2 separate regions of the Homo sapiens genome follow, and region 2 is linked to region 1. The links are contacts of gene promoters, found by promoter capture Hi-C in blood cells and fetal thymus (Javierre and others, 2016). All regions are on one chromosome and are shown on one strand. The core of a region is centred on a gene start or on the middle of the fragment in contact, and the rest is flanking DNA. Distances in the headings are between cores, read along the strand shown.

Region 1 (3,520 bases), core at 1,021-3,520:
GCTAGAAGTCCAAGATCAAGGAATTGGCAGAGTTGGTTTCATTCTAAGGCCTTGCTCCTGGGCTTGTAGATAGCCATCTTCTCCCTGTGTCTTCACGTGCTCTTCTTCTGTGTGACTGTGTCCTTTTTAAACATTTATTGTGGGCCAGGTGCGGGGGCTCACGCCTGTAATCCCAACACTTTGGGAGGCAGAGGTGGGCAGATCATGAAGTCAGGAGTTCCAGACCAGCCTGACCAACATGGTGAAACCCCGTCTCTACTAAAAATACAAAAATTAGCCAGGTGTGGTGGTGCGCAGCTGTAATCCCAGCTACTCAGGAGGCTGAGGCAGGAGAATCACTTGAACCTGGGAGGTGAAGGTTGCAGTGAGCCAAGATGGCACCACCACACTCCAGCCTGGGTGACAGAGGGAAAGTGTCTCAAAAAAAAAAAAAAGTATTGTGGTCAGGCATGGTGGCTCACGCCTATAACCCCAATACTTCGGGAGGCTCTGAGGCAGGTGGATCAACTGAGGTCAGAAGTTCAAGACCAGCCTGACCAACATGGTGAAACCCCGTCTCTACTAAATACAAAAACTTAGCCAGGCGTGGTGGCATACACCTGTCATCCCAGCTACTTGGGAGGCTGAGGCAGGAGAATTGCTTGAACCCGGGAGGTAGAAGTCTCAGTGAGCTGAGATTGTGCCACTGCACTCCAGCCTATGCAACAAGAGCAAAACTCCGTCTCAAAAATAATTTTTAAAAATAAAAATTTATTGTTTATTTATTTTTTGAGACAAGGTCTTGCTCTGGTGCTCAGGCTGGAGTGCAGTGGCACAATCACGGCTCACTGAAACCTCCACCTCCAGGAGTTCAAGACCAGCCTGGGCAACATGGTGAAACCCATCTCTACAAAAACTAGACAGCTGTGGTCTCAGCTACCCAGGAGACTGAGGTGGGAGGGTCACTTGAGCCTAGGAGGTAGAGGTTGCAGTGAGCTGTGACTGCACCACTGCACTCCAGCCTAGGTGACAGAGTGAGACCCTGTCTCAAAAAAAAGGGGGGGGGGATACCAGTCTTAACTGGATGAGGTACAATGTGACTTCATTTTACCTTAATCACCCTTTAAAGACCCTGTCTCCAAAGACAGTCACCTTATGAGATACTGAGTGTTAGGACTTAAACATATGCGTTTGGTTGCGGGGGGACATGATTCAGTCATATCAAGGTGGGGAATGGAGTGGTGTAACTGCTGATGGGTGTGCGTCTCCTTTTTGGGGTGGTTAAAATGTTCTGGAATTAGTGGCAATTAATGTGCATCTCTGTGAATATACTAAAAACCACTGAATTGCCCAGCCAGAAAGGATAAACTTTTGCCCTGGGGCAGGAAGAAGGCTGGCATGCAGAGAGAGGAGAAAGGGGGGCTGGATGAGCTGGCCTGCTAGCGGGGGCCCCAATACTACATAAGACCTTGCCCTTCTCCACAGTATCTGGTGTTAAATCTCATTATGAGGACCCTTTCAGCCCGGGGTTGGGATTGGAAGTGAGACATTGAAACTTCAAGGGCTGGGTTCTGGCCCGGGTGGGGATTTGCCATGGAGCAAAATAGCCTCTTGCAGCACATGCGGGGTTTCCTGTGCCGGGCACTGTCCTAAGTCCTTCTCAACTCTTTCGTCATTGAGTTCTCATAGCAGTCCAGTGAGCCAGGTACCATTCCTCTCTTCAGTCCACGGTGCCAGGTCACTTGGCTAGGGTCCCACTGAGAGTTCGAAGGAAGCCAGGCTAGAGCTCAGGCCTCTCACCAGCTGGAGGTCTTTCCCAGACTCTCTAAGGTGAGAGTTGGTGAATGGTGTCAGCCTGGGCCTGGATGAGTGACCCACGGTGCTCAGTGAATTTCAGGAACAGAGCCAGGGGATGCTGCGGTCAGGGGTGTCTTGATGGGGAAGAAGCAGGGCTGGGCGCTCACCTGGCTTCCCCGGACCTGCAGGTCCAGCCTCGCTCTCCTTCCCCCGAGCACCTCTAGCCCAAGGCCTGCCCACTTGCTGGAGCTGGCCCCTTGGCAAGGCTGCTGGGAGGGCCCGTGCTGCCAGGGCGGTCAGGGTCAGTGTCAGAGGTGCCTAAGGGACGCCCAAGGGGGTGCCCAGGTGGCAAGGTGCCTGTATGCTCAGGGAAGCCACGTCCCAGCTCGCGGGTGGGTGCAGCAGAGGCCCACGTGACCTTGCTGCTGACATTCCTCAGAGGCCATGTGGCCCCAACTGGCAGCGACAGCTGCAGACGGGCTGAACCAGCTTTGTTCCCAGGGTGGCGCCTGCTCTCCATCCAGGCCCCATTCCGGCTCCCACCCGACGCTGCTTTTGTTCCCACGTTTCGGGGGGCAGCTGGCACTGTGATTCCTGCCCCATGAGTGCCTAGAGGCACGGAGCCACCAGGGATCACCCCACGTGGGACACAGGGCTTGGGGAGGATGGGGCAGGACCAGACCAAGCAGCAGATCGAGAAGGGGCTCCAGCTGTACCAGTCCAACCAGACAGAGAAGGCATTGCAGGTGTGGACAAAGGTGCTGGAGAAGAGCTCGGACCTCATGGGGCGCTTCCGCGTGCTGGGCTGCCTGGTCACAGCCCACTCGGAGATGGGCCGCTACAAGGAGATGCTGAAGGTGGGTGTACCCGGCCTGGGGGCGTTCGAGGGTCAGGCTGGGGCCGGATGTCTCCCAGGCTCCCCAGTCCCCTCTCGGCCTCCTCGGGCTCCCCTGTGTCCCACAGGCTGGCAGCCAGGGCCCGAGGCTCTGAATTTATATCTAAGGCCCTGGGTCTTAGATACTGAGTCTTGGCATCAGATTCAGGCCTGTGGCCTTGAACTGTGGTGCCCGAGTCTCTGAGACTGAGGTTCTCCAGCCTCAGGGTCGAGGGTTTGTGGGTCTCAAGCCCATTGTAGGTTTCAGCCTTCCTGTCTGGTGTTCTGTGTCTGAGCCTGGCGGGGTGTGGGCTCCAGGGTTGCGGCTGGGGGTGGGTGGGTGGTGGAGACTCCAGATCTGAGGCTTGGGATAGAAGGTGAAGGCTGCAAGCCTGAGCTTGGGAGGTGAGGCTGGGGTGTAGGGAAGGTAGCTGAGGCTGGCGGGTAGAAGCTCTGGGTCTGAAAAGAAGCTTTGGGATCTGCTGCTTTGGGTGTGAGGCTGGGGGGTGGGTGTGGGGCCTCCAGGTCTGAGCCTGCAGTGCAGGCTGGGGTCCAAGGCTCAGAGTCCAGGCTGAGCACCACCTGCCCACCGTCGCTGTGTGCAGTTCGCTGTGGTCCAGATCGACACGGCCCGGGAGCTGGAGGATGCCGACTTCCTCCTGGAGAGCTACCTGAACCTGGCACGCAGCAACGAGAAGCTGTGCGAGTTTCACAAGACCATCTCCTACTGCAAGACCTGCCTTGGGCTGCCTGGTACCAGGGCAGGTGCCCAGCTCGGAGGCCAGGTCAGCCTGAGCATGGGCAATGCCTTCCTGGGCCTCAGCGTCTTCCAGAAGGCCCTGGAGAGCTTCGAGAAGGCCCTGCGCTATG
Region 2 (3,520 bases), core at 599-3,098, 300 kb after region 1:
CCTAATCCCCCCATCATTTTTTATTTAAAGGAAATGTTTAGAACCTCAGAAAACTACAGAGAATAACATAACAAACACTTGTGTCCCCACTAGCCAATTTTATCAGACCATAACGTCTTACTATCTTTGCTTCAGTTTTTAAAAGCTTTGTAAAATGCAGCATTACAGATACCATTTCAGCCACCTGTGCACCCCTCCCTCATCCTATCCTCTACCTTTCTTCCTGGGGGGATCACCATGATTTACTAAAACTTGGGAGTCTAGCATTCCTCTGCATGTCTTTATACTATAATTAACTCATGCAAATGTCTGTGTTCTTAAAACATTATATAGCTTTGTTTTGCTTTTTCTCAAACTCTGTGTCATTCTGTAACTTTGATATTTTGAGATTCATCAGGATTGATGCATATATAGCTATTCATTTTAGCTGCTGGAAAGAATTCCACAACTATGGTATGAATATGCCACACTTTATTCTTTCCTTCAGCAGAGGGACGTGCAGATTGTTCCAATGGCGGCCATTACAAACAATACTGCATGTTTCCTTATTCCCAGGAGTAGCTCTTGAACTTTAAAAATTTGCCTAAATTGTCTGAAAGTAATTGTAACAATTTACACTCCCACACACAGTTTATGAGAGTTCCCACTATTTCACATCCTCACCAATATTTGTATTATGAGACTTTAAAATTTTTGCCAATTTGATAGGTATGAAGTGGTATCTCAATTTAGTTGGGAGTTTCCTGATTACTAGTGAGTGTGGGCATGAAAATATGCCCAAAGGTTTATTACTAATGTTCTTCTGTGCATTGCCTGTTTATATCTTTGGACTATTTTTCTACTGAGATCCTTAATCTTTTTCTTATTGATTTGTAGGAATTCTTTTTTTTTTTTTTTTTTTTGAGACAGAGTTTCATTCTTGTTGCCCAGGCTGGAGTGCAGTGGCACGGTTTCGGCTCACTGCAATCTCCACCTCCCGGGTTCAAGTGATTCTCCTGCCTCAACCTCCCAAGTAGCTGGAATTACAGGCGCCCGCCACCATGCCCGGCTAATTTTTTTGTATTTTTAGTAGAGAGGAGGTTTCACTATGTTGACCAGGCTGGTCTTGAACTCCTGACTTCAGGTGATCCACCCGCCTCGGCCTCCCAAAGTGCTGGGATTACAGGCGTGAGCCACTGTGCCCAGCCAATTTGTAGGAATTCTTTATTAAAAAGTTCTTAGCTGGGTGTGGTGGTGTGCACCTGTAGTCCCAGCTACTTGGGAGGCTGAGGCAGGAAAACTGCCTGAGCCTGGGAGCTTGAGTCTAGCCCCAGCAACACAGCAAGACCCCATCTTAAAATAAAATAAAATAAAATAAAATAAAATAATTTACGGAAAGCTGAGGCAGGAGGAATGCCTGAGGCCAGGAGTTCGAGACCAGCCTGAGCAACACAGCAAGATCACTGCCCCCATCTCTACAAAATAAAAAATTAGCTGGGCTTTGTAGAACGTGCCTATGGTCCTAGCTACTCAGGAGGCTGAGGTGGGAAAATCACTTGAGCACAGGAGTTTGAGGCTGTAGTGAGCTATGAATGCACCACTGCACTCCAGCCTGTGTGACAGAACAAGACCTCATTTCAAAAAATAATAACATTTTTTAAATAATTTTTTTTGGGAGGGACAGAGTCTTGCTATGTCACCCAGGCTGGAGTGCAATGGTGCGATCTCAGCTCACTGCAACCTCTGCCTCCCGGGTTCAAGCAGTTCTCCTGCCTCAGCCTCCTGAGTAGCTGGGATTCCATAGGTGCGTGCCACCCCACCCGACTAATTTTTGTATTTAGTAGAGATGGGGTTTCTTTTTAGTAGAGACGGGGTTTCACCATGTTGGCCAGGCTGGTCTCGAACTCCTGACCTCAAGTGATCCACCTGCCTTTGCCTCCCAAAGTGCTGGGATTACAGGCGTGTGCCACCATGCCCAGCCAGAATAAGAATGCAGGCAATACAGCCGGGTGCGGTGGCCCACGCCTGTAATGCCAGCATTTTGGGAGGCCGAGGCAGGCAGATCATAAGGTCAAGAGATTGGGACCATCCTGGCCAACAGTGTGAAACCCAGTCTCTACTAAGAATACAAAAATTAGCCAGGCATGGTGGTGCGTGCCTGTAGTCCTAGCTACTTGGGAGGCTGAGGCGAGAGAATCGCTTGAACCTGGGAGGCGGAGGTTGCAGTGAGCTCAGATCATGCCACTGCACTCCAGCCTGGTGACAGAGCAAGACTCTATCTCAAAAAAAAAAAAAAAAAAAAAAAAAATGGCAGGCAATACTTTAAATCAGTGGTTCTCAACGTGTGTTTCCCAGACCATCAGTATCACCTGGGAATTTTTTAGAAATATAAATTATTGAGCCCCGCCCTAAACCTACTGAACTCTGGGGATGTGGTCCGGCCATGTGTGGTTTAACAAGCCCTGCAGGTGACTCTGATGCATGCTCAAGTTTGAGAACCAGTGCTTTAAATCTTCACCCTTGGAGCAGAGCTTCCCAACCCTTTGTCACTTCGGCCTCAAATGACTTACAGATGTGATGGTCCCCTTGGCCCAGCTGGGAGGAGGCCAGAGCCTGCAGGCCAATCACAAGAAGTCTTGTCTTTACTGGAGATTTTTGTTATATATTATTTTCTGATTGCTGTGAAGTGCAAAAAGGCCAGGAAGCATTGCCTTTGGAAACCCAGGAACATCTCATTTTTCTTTTAATCTGGTACTATTAATAATACCAACATAATTGTAACAGCAAGAAATTACTACTGGCCAGGCGTGGTGGCTCATGCCTGTAATCCCAGTATTTTGGGAGGCTGAGGTAGGCAGATCGCTTGAGGTCAGGAGTTCGAGACCAGCCTGGCCAACATGGTGAAACCCCGTCTCTACTACAAATACAAAAAATTAGCAAGGCGTGGTGGCGGGCATCTATAATCCTAGCTACTTGGGAGGCTGAGGCACAAGAATCACTTGAACCCAGGAGGCGGAGGTTGCAGCGAGCTAAGATCACGCCACTGCACTCCAGCCTGGGCAACAGAGCAAGACTTCATCTAAAAAAAAAATTATTACTGATTTAATGTCTACAATGTGGTAAGCAGTGTTCATGGTTTTGTTGGTGTTACTGAAATCTTACAAACACCCTATGAGTTAGTTACTATTATTATTATCATCCCCATTTTACAGATATAAAAACAGGGCTCAGAGAAGTTAAGAGATATCCTCAAGGTCATCCAGTTAATGGGGCACAGGTGGGATGTACAGTAGATCTTTCTAATGCCATGGGGCCTGTGTTCTTCTAGGTCAAGGTTAATATTACCATTTCTAACGATTATGACAAGTTTACTCTGTGCCAGCCACCATTTTAAGCACATCATATACTTCTCCTTCAATCATTACAACTATTATTATTCCCATTTTACAAGTGAGGAAACAGGCTCAAATTAAATACCTTTCTCAAGGGCACAGCTAGTATATTGTGGAACCAGGATTTGAACTCAAGAAGTCTGGTTCCA

Evidence for each region. The method cuts DNA at HindIII sites, captures the fragments that hold promoters and counts their contacts. A CHiCAGO score of 5 or more calls a contact.
Region 2: a contact is called between a fragment that was not itself captured here and the fragment with the promoter of RAPSN in region 1, in 1 of 17 cell types (neutrophils). The highest score is 5.3, in neutrophils.

Annotation. Positions count from the first base shown.
Region 1 is chr11:47,447,886-47,451,405 of GRCh38, reverse strand. It overlaps RAPSN (receptor associated protein of the synapse), which reads left to right and starts at 2,270. Exons shown (of 8, transcript NM_005055.5): 1 at 2,270-2,633; 2 at 3,256-3,520. The coding sequence starts at 2,442. The HindIII fragment of the contact is 3,655 bases long and covers 1-3,122 here.
Region 2 is chr11:47,143,748-47,147,267 of GRCh38, reverse strand. The region is part of intron 4 of CSTPP1 (centriolar satellite-associated tubulin polyglutamylase complex regulator 1); the gene reads right to left. Among named protein-coding and RNA genes, the nearest start is that of ARFGAP2, 31 kb to the left of the region's middle. The HindIII fragment of the contact is 3,402 bases long and covers 148-3,520 here.